Regions from separate parts of the Homo sapiens genome. Here region 2 is linked to region 1. The links are contacts of gene promoters, found by promoter capture Hi-C in blood cells and fetal thymus (Javierre and others, 2016). All regions are on one chromosome and are shown on one strand. Each heading gives the region's core, a stretch centred on a gene start or on the middle of the fragment in contact. The rest is flanking DNA. Distances are from core to core; before and after follow the strand shown.

Region 1 (5,382 bases), core at 2,033-4,532:
TATTTATTTTTTGAGACAGGGTCTCATTGTCATCTAAGCTGGAGTGCAGTGGTGCGATCGCAGCTCACTGCAGCTCCACCTCCTGTCAGTCAGCCTCAACTGCCTGGGCTCAGGTGATCCTACCACCTCAGACTCCCAAGTAGCTGAGACCACAGGCACACACCACCATGCCCAGCTACTTTTTCTATTTTTTTTGTGGAGACGGGGCTTTGCCATGTTGCCCAGGCTGCTCTTGAACTCCTGGCCTCAAGCGATCCACTTGTCTTGGCCTCTCAAAGTGCTGGGATGACAGGCGTGAGCCCTAGTGAACATAATTTCTTAAGTGGAAAAGGGAACTTCCCACATCCAGGCCAGGATCATTGAGTACAACTATCACAAGACCACAATTTCTTCATTAATAATGACTTTATATAATCTCTAAGAGCTCTTCCAGGCCGGGTGCGGTGGCTCACACCTGTAATCCCAGCACTTTGGGAGGCCGAGGAGGGCGGATCACGAGGTCAGGAGATTGAGACCATCCTGGCTAATATGGTGAGACCCCGTCTCTACTAAAAATACAAAAAAAAATTAGCCAGGTGTGGTGGCGGGCGCATGTAGTCCCAGCTACTCAGGAGGCTGAAGCAGGAGAACGGTGTGAACCTGGGAGGTAGGGCATGCAGTGAGCCAAGATCGCGCCACTGCACTCCAGCCTGGGCGACAGAGCAAGACTCTGTCTCAAAAAAAAAAAAAAAAAAAAAGATCTCTTCCAGCCCCAAAGTTCTATGATACTAGTTAACTAAAAGAGGGGAAATAGGATATTAATTCAACAAATACTTATTACTATAACCTTATGCTAAAAAGTGAATAAGGTCTGCCCTTGGGGAGTGTAAAGTCAAATGAGAGAATAAACACTAAATCCTTGTAATGCTGTATAAGGGTTGTGTAAATAATAGCATATATTTCTTGAACACTTACTATTTGCCAGGTGTCATTCTAAACACTTTACAACTGAACTTCACAATTCCACTTCCATTAGATGGGTTTTCTTATCTCCACTTAGCTAAAGAAACTGAGACATAAAGAGGTTTAATAATTTGCCAGTAGGTAACAGAGCAAATAATTTGGCTTCAGGGTCTATGTTCAATCAGTCAGCAGTTAACAGCATTATTGATGGAAGATTGGGAGGAGTGTGCATGAAGGCTGTCACACTTTTGCTACAAGTTCCTAGTGATCTTGTGACATTAAGTGGGTTTAGGTCGGGGTTCCCAAGCCCCAGGCCATGGATGGATACTGGTCCATGAGTGAGCAAAGCTTCATCTGTATTTACAGTGGCTCCCCATTGCTCACATTACCACCTGAGCTCCGTCCGCCTCCTGTCAGATAAGCCGTGGCATTAGAGTCATATAGCAGCATGAACCCTATTGTGAACCACACATGCAAGGGATCTAGGTTGTGGGCTCCTTATGAGAATCTAATGCCTGATGATCTGTCATTGTCTCCCATCACACCCAGATGGGACCGTCTAGTTGCAGGAAAACAAGCTTGGGGCTCCTACTGATTCTAAGTTGAGTTGTATAATTATTTCATTATATATTGTAATGTAATAATAAAGTGCACAATAAATGTGCTTGAATCATCCCAAAACCAGCCCCCGCATTTCCACCCCGTGGAAAAACTGTCTTCCACAAAACCAACCCCTAGTGCCAAAAAGGCTGGAGACTGCTGGTTTAAATCACATTTTCTTTGGCCCTTGGTGATGTCCACATCAGCATAACCAGGAGAAAACCACTTCGTTGTTTTTTTGTTGGTTTTTTTTTTTTTTTTTTTTGGCTGGGGGGTGGTTGGTTGGTTGTTTTTGAGACAGCGTCTTGCTCTGTTGCCTAGGCTGGAGTGCAGTGGCCTGATCTCGGCTCACTGCAACCTCCGCCTCCTGGGTTCAAGCGATTCTCCTGCCTCAGCCCCTGAATAGCTAGGATTATAGGCACCCGCCACCACGCCCGGCTAATTTTGTATTTTCAGTAGAGATGGGGTTTCACCATGTTGGCCAAGCTGGTCTTGAACTCCCTACCTCGGGTGATCCGCCTGCCTCAGCCTCCCAAAGTGCTGGGATTACAGATGTGAGCCACTGTGCCCGGCCAGAAAACTACTTCTTTGGAGTCCACAGGCAACTGGGTACAAATTCCAGGTTTATCACTTAACTGGTAAACTTGACCAAGTCTAAGCTTCATTTGTTTAACAAGAATAACTATTGGCTTCATTGGGAGGTTATAACCATTAAATACTAAGTTGAGCTATATGAACCTGCTGTTTCTGGAGGCAAAAACAGTCTAACATCATGGGGAGTGGGGGGAATCTACCAAAATGGTAAGGATTCCTTTGTGCTTTTGATTTTTGAAAACTTCAGCCCTAAATTCTTCCTTTTCACCTCTCTTGCCCAAGGCATAGTGCCACCCAACGGTCTGCGTGGCCCTGGGAGCTCGGAGGTTGCACACTGTTGACCTACCCTATTGAAGCCAGTAAGTTAGTCAAGGGACAGCCTCATGAGATTTGGGAGTTCTACAAGGATCTGGAGTTTCTTTCCAGCCAGTCACAAGCACATCCCTTGGGGGCTAGAGAAGTCAAGAGCCCTGACACATAGCCTACCACACACAGACTCAGAGTGCACTTTCACCCTCCTTTTCAACGCCTATTTGCCTCACTGTACAATGAGTAGTGACATTGGCTCTATTTTTAAATGTGGAAACTGAGGCCTAGAGAGGGTCAGGTCCTGTCCAATGTCACAGGCACCAATTGGTGTTGGAAAGAAGGTGGGGTTTGGCGTCAGATGGATCAGCGCAAGCACTGCCTCTAGATGTGTCACCTTCACAAGGTTCTTTAACTTCTGGGGCCTGTTTCTTTTGCTAGAAAAGGTCGCTGATAACGCTTGTCCTCATATGACTCTTCAACCCAAGTCTGCTCTCTGGCAGCCCCACATGTGGGGAGACCCCCAAGGAGACACTGCGAGAAGCACAGAGTGCGGCGCGCCAGGACTCAAACCGTGGGCACCCGACCGACGCACACGCGCAGCCCCACGACAGTATCAGTATTTAATTTCCACTAGAGACAGAACTAAGCCTAACCATCACCAGGCTCAAGCCGCCTACCCCAAAACCGAGAACGGAACTGCCCGGTCCCCCCGAAAAGAAGGGCGGAACATTTCGGCCAAGTCCTCAGACTACCGAACCGGAGAGCTCCGAAAGGGGACTACCTGCGCCTGCGCACCGCCATCTTGTTAAAAGAGCCCGCCTCTCCCTCGGCCGGTCACTCTTTCGCCACGGGCGGGGTTGCACCATCCGGCAGGGCGGGGCCCGGCCATGGCGACCGCGGAGCCCAGCGGGCGCGCGTTGCGGTTGTCTACCCCGGGACCCCGGCCCAGCGGGGCTCGGGACCGCGCGCCGGGAGCTGCGGGGCCACCCTCCGGGCAGATCGGTAATAGAGCCCTCCGTCTGGGGGAGCGCACCCCCGCGGCCGTGGAAAAGCGGGGGCCATACATGGTGACGCGCGCACCCTCCATTCAAGCCAAGCTGCGTGAGTGTGGCCCGATGGTCGGGGGAGGTTTCTCCCTGGGCGGGCGGCCGCGTCCCCAGGGCGGGTTCCGGAGCTCCGCTGGGCCTCGGCCCCGGAGGGAAGGGGTTAGCTGCAGCCTGCTCTCGCCCCTCAAAATCCGTTCGGAAAGAGCGGCCTCCCAGCCTTCGGGAGACGCGGCGGAGTGGGGAAGACCCGGCTGACCCGGGTCCTTTAACTTCCAGAGAAGCACCGGGACCTGGCCAAGGCCGTTCTGCGGAGAAAAGGCATGCTGGGGGCCTCGCCGAACCGCCCAGACTCTTCAGGGAAAAGGTCTCAGCAGGCGCCACCTCCTCTGTGCCAGCAGCTTTAGAGAAGGCTTTAATCCCCAGGACGGAGGCAGGGTGCTCTGGTTTAAGGCCGAGCTAGCGATTCCCCTGATGCAACCTGTCAGGTTCACTATCTTTAAAATGGGAAGAGGAACAATCTCTCTTTTCCTTTAAGGATGTGATAGGATCAGATAAAGGGCTTCGGAATAAGGGAGTTCTGTGAGTGCACAGGCTCATTCACTATCATTCTCCTCCTCTGTTAGGGAGGAGAATGGTGGCTGGAGTCCCCAGCAATGAGGACGAAGAGCAGTGTGGGAATGGCTAGACCTGTTTTTGTTTGTTTGTTTTTAACAGAATAGTAAACTCGGAGCTGCATAGAACCTTATTCAGTGCCTCCTTTTACAGATGAGGGTTGAAACTCGGAGAAGTGAAGGTTAACCCTAACCTTTTACCCAAAGACTTGCAGTTTTTGTGTCCTCTGATTAAATAAGTGGGGAGAGGGTGCTTTTCCTAGATCAGGCAAGGGGAGGTGTGCTTTTTTCCAAGACCTATGGGAGGAGTAGAATACAGGCCGGGCGTGGTGGCTCACGACTGTAATTCCAGCACTTTGGGAAGCCGAGGCGGGTGGATCACTTGAAGTCAGGAGTTCGAGACCAGCCTGGCCAACATGGTGAAAGCCCGTCTCTATTAAAAATACAAAATTAGCTGGGCACGCCTGTAGTCCCAGCTACTCAAGAGGCTGAGGCAGGAAAATCACTTGAGCATGGTAGGCGGAGATTGCAGTGAGCCGAGATCGCGCCACTGCACTGCAGCCTGGGTGACAGGGCCAGACTCTGTCTCCAAAAAAAGAAAAAAAGAATGAGAACATACACATTCTGAGGCACTGTAGCCAGGTACATGGAGCTGCAGGCAGTGGTGGCTGTGACCAGGGAGAAGGCAAGTCAGTAGTGCAGTCAATTCTTTCTCCTTCAGGGCGAGGACTCTGCCTATCCCTGTGAAATGCCTATGCTTTCATCTATGTTTGGTCTCTTCTCCCCCGTCTCCCCTCAGGTCAGTGAAGTTTAACAAGGGCTATACTGCTCTTAGCCAGAGTCCAGATGAAAACCTGGTGTCCCTCGACTCTGACAGGTGAGTGCTCCCCTTGGAAATACCCCCTTGGGAAGCAACTTGGCTGGGACTGAAGATCGCCTGATGCCTTTGCTTGTTCCCTGTCTCCTCCAAGGCCCTTCATGTACATTCCAGGGCCGTTCTCTTCTGAACAATATCCCTTCCCAGGATGGCTTGGTTAGAAGACTCATAGGTAATCGTGCTGCTCTAGAATTCGGAGCACCAATGTCCGGGGGATCATCCTGCCCTGTTATGTTTGCATTGTTAGTGAGAGTGACCCTGTCCCTGCCAGAACCAATTGAGGGAACCAGTATTATTCAAGGCCTGTTCGGACTTGAGTTCTGTTGTGTGTGGCCTTTGCTTCAAAAGTCTTCCAGATGCCCTTGCATGCTCTCCGCCTGATGATTTACAGCTGTGCACCACA
Region 2 (5,186 bases), core at 480-2,979, 540 kb after region 1:
CTTGGAAGACTGCTTTTCTTTGTGGAAGCTCATCACCCTGCCGCTGCTCGTGAGACACTGCCTTCCTTGGCTGATGTCATTCCAGGCTCAAGGTCATCAGTGAGGCAAAACAGGCTTTCTCCATACTCTCTTTATCAGAAGGTTCATGACTGATGAGGTAGTGGTCACTCCAGCGGGAAGAGCAACAACCACTCTTGATAAGTACTTTTTTTTTTTCTTCTAAAAACTGTTGCTCTAAATTTGTTGAAAGTGGTTCAACAGTATTGGAGTCTGGGGTCAAGTGGCTGTGTAAGGACAACTTTTGCCATTGTGGGTGATCTATGGGCTGACACATACAACAGAAGAGGCCAGGAGGATGTCACTCGTGTGTGTGTGTGTGTGTGTGTGTTTGGTAACAGCTCTATTGAGATATAATTCACACACCATACAATTCACCCATTTAAAGTATGCAATTCAATGGCTTTTAGTGTATCAGAGAGTTGTTCAATAATTACCACAATATACTTTAGAATATTTTCATTTTCATCATCCTAAGAATCCCTACACACTTTATGTCCCATCCTCTAATTCCTCTATCCCCCTAGCTCTAAGCAACCACCAGTCTATTTTCTGTCTCTTAGATGTGTGTTTTAAATGCCTTATTTGCCAGAAAATAAGATTTTGGGGAAAAAAAGCAAGAAGTTGTACCTTCCAATGATAAGTATAAGGTATAGTGTAGATTGCTGTCATGAAATGCTCTACATGGCACATGTATGTTTTCTGACCTACACATTTTTACCAAGTGGGCTGTAATTTTGTTGAAATGACTTGAAAACTCTACAGGTGACTGACCCTTGTTGTTTGGGAAAGTGGTAGGTGCAGGGTGATGGGGGGTGGGTGTGGGGGCTGACCTGGGCTGGAAGGATGGGTCTGGGGATATGATATGATGGGAGGGGGTATGGAAGCAGCTCTGAGGGGAAAGCAGCACAGATCAAGTGTGTGGACAGGGAAGAGCTGACATCCTGAGTTCCATGGCAACCAGATTTGCCAAGGTCTTAGAGTGTGTCCAGAGTGGAGCCTGACCACAGACCTCAGCTCAAGGGACCCAGAGCCCCTCTGAGTCAGCTGTACTGAATTACAGCCCCAAATCTGGGTCAACTGGGGAGAGACGACGAGGATTAGGGTTCCAAGGTGAAACTGTGCCATTGCGCTCCAGCCTGGGCAACAAGAATGAAACTCTCTTAAAATAAAATAAAATAAAATAAAATAAAATAAAATAAAATAGCCTAAGGATGCATTTCTCAGAACTTATCCCTGTTGTTCAATGATGTGTGTCTATACAGTGGGGCCATAACTAAGACGTATGTTGCCCAAGCTGGCAAGATAGCTCTGACCTTCTCTTGGGCCCCTCATTTCCCCCAAACACAGGTTGTCTGCAGTCTTGACCAATGGCTGCCAGGGCATGGACTCCGCTGCAGGGGCCAGTGGGAGGCCCCAGCTCAGGCAAAAGCACAGGCAGATATTTCAGGAGTCTGCTAGGGCTGGCACTGAGGGCAGAGACAGAGGGGTCTCCCTGTCCTTTGGAGAACCTCACGCTGCAGAAATTCCAGACTGAACCTTCATACCGAGTAGGGGAGGAGCTGTCTGCGGGTTTGAGCCTGCAGCAGGAGGAAGGACGTGAACATTTTATCAGCTTCTGGTATGGCCTTGAGCTGGTAGTTATAATCTTGGCCCTGGTGGCCCAGGGCTACAGTCATCCTAGCAGTCCCCGCTGAAGTGGAGCAGGTACAGTCACAGCTGTGGGGACAGCATGCTGGCCAAGGGTCTTCCCCCACGCTCAGTCCTGGTCAAAGGCTGCCAGACCTTTCTGAGTGCCCCCAGGGAGGGGCTGGGGCGTCTCAGGGTGCCCACTGGCGAGGGAGCTGGCATCTCCACCCGCAGTCCTCGCCCCTTCAATGAGATCCCCTCTCCTGGTGACAATGGCTGGCTAAACCTGTACCATTTCTGGAGGGAGACGGGCACACACAAAGTCCACCTTCACCATGTCCAGAATTTCCAGAAGTATGGCCCGATTTACAGGTAAGCCTGGCAGAGGGTGGGAGCCGAAGGGACAGGGAGGAGGAGGGGCCTGGGTAGCCCTGCTGTAGTCCCCACTCCCCCAACAGGCTGTTCTCTGGTTCCAAACTCCTGTCTAACTTCTTTTTTTTTTTTTTTTTTGGTAATACAATACAGAAATATATCAGGGATATTTCAAAATTCAACATTTGAATCTGTGAATGTCTTAAGTACTCTAAACCAGACATCTACTTTTGAAACAATTGGTGGCAAGACCGCCAGCCATCTGTAAGGAAGCTCTTTAATGGGTCCAAACCCCAGGTCTGGCCAGGCATGGTGGCTCACACCCATAATCCCAGCACTTTGGGAGGCCGAGGTGGGCGGATCACTTGAGATCAAGAGTTCGAGACCATCCTGGCCAACATGATGAAACCCCGTCTCTACTAAAAATACAAAAATTAGCTGGGTGTGGTGGCAGGCGCCTGTAATCCCAGCTACTCGGGAGGCTGAAGCAGGAGAATGGCTTGAACCGGAGAGGCAGAGGTTGCAGTGAGCCGAGATCGCACCATTGCAATCCAGCCTGGGCGACAGAGTGAGATTCTGTCTCAAACAAAACAAAACAACCTCCTCGGTCTGAGGAGGGGAGACTGGTGAGGCTAAGTTTTGAATTCCTGGCCCTGTAGCTGTCAGCCCAGCCAGCGAGTTTTAAAAATTGGGAGAAGGCCGGGTGCGGTGGCTCACGCTTGTAATCCCAGCACTTTGGGAGGCTGAGGCAGGCGGATCACTTGAGGACAGGAGTTCGAGATCAACCCGGCCAACATGGTGAAACCCTGTCTCTACTACAAAAATAAATAAATAAATAAATAAATAAATAAATAAAATAAAAAAAATTAGCCGGGCATGGTGGCGGGGGTCTATAATCCCAGCTACTCGGGAGGCTGAGGCAGGACACTCGCCCGAACCCAGGAGGTGGAGGTTGCAGTGAGCCGAGATCATGTCACTGCACTCCCGCCCTGGGCAACAAAAGCGAAACTCTGTCTCAAAAAAAAAAAAAAAAAAAAAATCGGGGGAGGGAGATTTGAAGGTCAGAGCACAGAGTGAAAAGGTCGCAGCGTGGTCAAGTTTGGCGCTAGCGACAGACCCAGCATTCCTCCCAGCGCACGCCGCCGCCCGGGCCGCGCTATTCCGAAATTGGGTCCGCCCTAGCGTGGCCCCCGGCCTGCTCCTGCGCTCTTCGCGGGTCGCTCACCTCCGCCTCCCCTCGACACAGCCCGAGCCCATCCGCCCCCCGGGTCGACCCGCGTTTACCTCAGGGCGAGGTCCAGGCGCTCGGCCCCGCGGAGGCGGCGGCGGCCCCACCGCAGGTCCTAGGTCCCAGTCACTCTGCCGCCAAGTTCCCCAACACGGACTCCGTGCGCTTTGAGGTGTTACGGGGGCGCTGGAGCACTGGCTTCGCTGGCCCTGCCAGGAGGCGGCGGCGAAGCAGGGAGCGACCCGGTATGCGTTTCTCTGCCCGGCCTGCGGCCCTGCAGCATCCACTCCTCGCCTCTGCTGGCCTCTGCCCTCGCTCGCTGCGTTCACCCGAGCTCACCCGAGCCCACCGGAGCCGACAGTGGCGCGCTAAGGTGACGTCCGCGCGGCCGGACCTCTCCTGTCCAACTTCTGATCTTCTTCCAGGCCTGGGATGGTGGTGGGTAAAAGGGAAAGTATTCCTAGTTCCCAGGCCTGAGGCCTCAACCTTCCCCAGATCCCACTCCCTTTGAAACTCTCGGAGAGAGGTGGTTAGAGAACAAGCCCTACTAAATGCCTCCCTACATCCGTTACCCTCCGCACACCTTGCAAGCGAAGTTTGTTGTCCCCATGGTCAGAGGAGGAGACTGAGGCTCAGAGAGGTCACCCAGCTAGATTCCTGTCCTGCTGGGGTGCTGGATCTCACCCCTTGGCCCTGAGGCTCTGAGTCTGTCCCTTCCCTTTCCCAAGAATCGGGCTTGCTTCCTGCTAGGAGGAAAGGCCTTTTTTTTTTTTTTTTGTCTTTGGGCCTCTGTGCCTCCAGGGCTTGTGGCTTTTTCCTGGGAAAACTGCTAAAGCTGTTCCCACGGTGGGCAGCCTTTCAGCCACACCTGGGTTCTTTGCTAAGAGTCCGGTTGAGAGGGAACGGAGGTGGCGCAGGGGTGGTTGGGGGCTGGGAGGGGAGACCAGGAGGGACAGTACGTTTTCCTTTAAGTGAAAGGTCTTTACAACTCAGAGCATTCCAATGGGTCAGTCACGAAGAGGGAAGGGTAAGATGTGTTGGCCGGCTTGATGACTGGGCTGGGGGTGGGTGAGAAGGCAGGCTAGTTTGTGTTGGGGCTTCAGCTGCTCCCTCCCTCTCTCACAACTCCTTTAAAGTCCAAACTGCCCCTTTTGATAGCTGGTTGGTGGCAGGGAGCTCCCCCCACCCCGCACCCCACCCTATTCAAGGTTGAGTGCTGGGCTTGGGAGGTTGCGCCCCGCTGGGTCTCTCCTTCCTCCCCCTCTCTCCTAGGCCTATTAGTGCTTCTGTCCCGTGCTCACTTCACATAGATCTCTAGTTATCCTTGCTTCCTCCTCTCTTCCCTTTTCACCACTTCCTAGACCCTCAGTAGCAACTCCTTATTTTATTAAGCCCCTTTGTTACCGGTGGAGGGTGTCCAGGTTCTTGGCGTCTTGAACAAAGAATTGGACAAAATGCACAGACAAAGTAAGGAAGGAATGAAGGGATTTATTGAAAATGAACATACACACCACAGTGTGGGAGCAGGCGGAGCGTAGGGGCTCAAAGGTCCCGTTACAGAATTGTGGGGCATTTACCCCCAGAGGATTCCATTGGTTACTTCAGATACACCTTATGTAAATGGAGAGGATGAAGTATTCAAGTTACATAGTCATACACCCTATGGAGAGGATATTTCCTGTTATAGCTGAAGTGTGAATCGATCTTCACACTTCAGACCCTATTTTCCTGCCTCATCTGCCCCTTCAAGAGATGTGATCCCCATAAATCTTTATGGGAGGCAGAGGGACCGATGGTCTTTTTTCTGTAACTGCTTCATGCTGGCTTGGGGCATAGTCCCTACCTATTGGGGATCATGGAACTCTCACCCTGCTCTATCTAGTGGAGGAAGGGTAGCTTC

The links. Contacts are between HindIII fragments. The CHiCAGO score rates a contact against its expected background, and 5 or more counts as called.
Region 2: the fragment with the promoter of CYP11A1 here is called in contact with the fragment with the promoter of FAM219B in region 1 in 1 of 17 cell types (M2 macrophages); the score reaches 5.5 in M2 macrophages.

The regions. Positions count from the first base shown.
Region 1 is chr15:74,904,751-74,910,132 of GRCh38, reverse strand. It overlaps FAM219B (family with sequence similarity 219 member B), which reads left to right and starts at 3,282. Exons shown (of 5, transcript NM_020447.5): 1 at 3,282-3,546; 2 at 3,768-3,855; 3 at 4,902-4,979. The coding sequence starts at 3,333. RefSeq lists enhancers at 2,940-3,219, 3,061-3,865, 3,866-4,672 and a silencer at 3,280-3,579. The HindIII fragment of the contact is 3,941 bases long and covers 2,204-5,382 here.
Region 2 is chr15:74,364,189-74,369,374 of GRCh38, reverse strand. CYP11A1 (cytochrome P450 family 11 subfamily A member 1) reads left to right here and starts at 1,729. Exons shown (of 9, transcript NM_000781.3): 1 at 1,729-2,058. The coding sequence starts at 1,790. LOC124903524 (a long non-coding RNA gene) reads right to left here and starts at 3,913. Exons shown (of 2, transcript XR_007064709.1): 1 at 3,870-3,913; 2 at 1-3,713. RefSeq lists enhancers at 29-151, 1,573-1,597, a promoter at 1-1,779 and a silencer at 3,187-3,346. The HindIII fragment of the contact is 5,873 bases long and covers 1-5,186 here.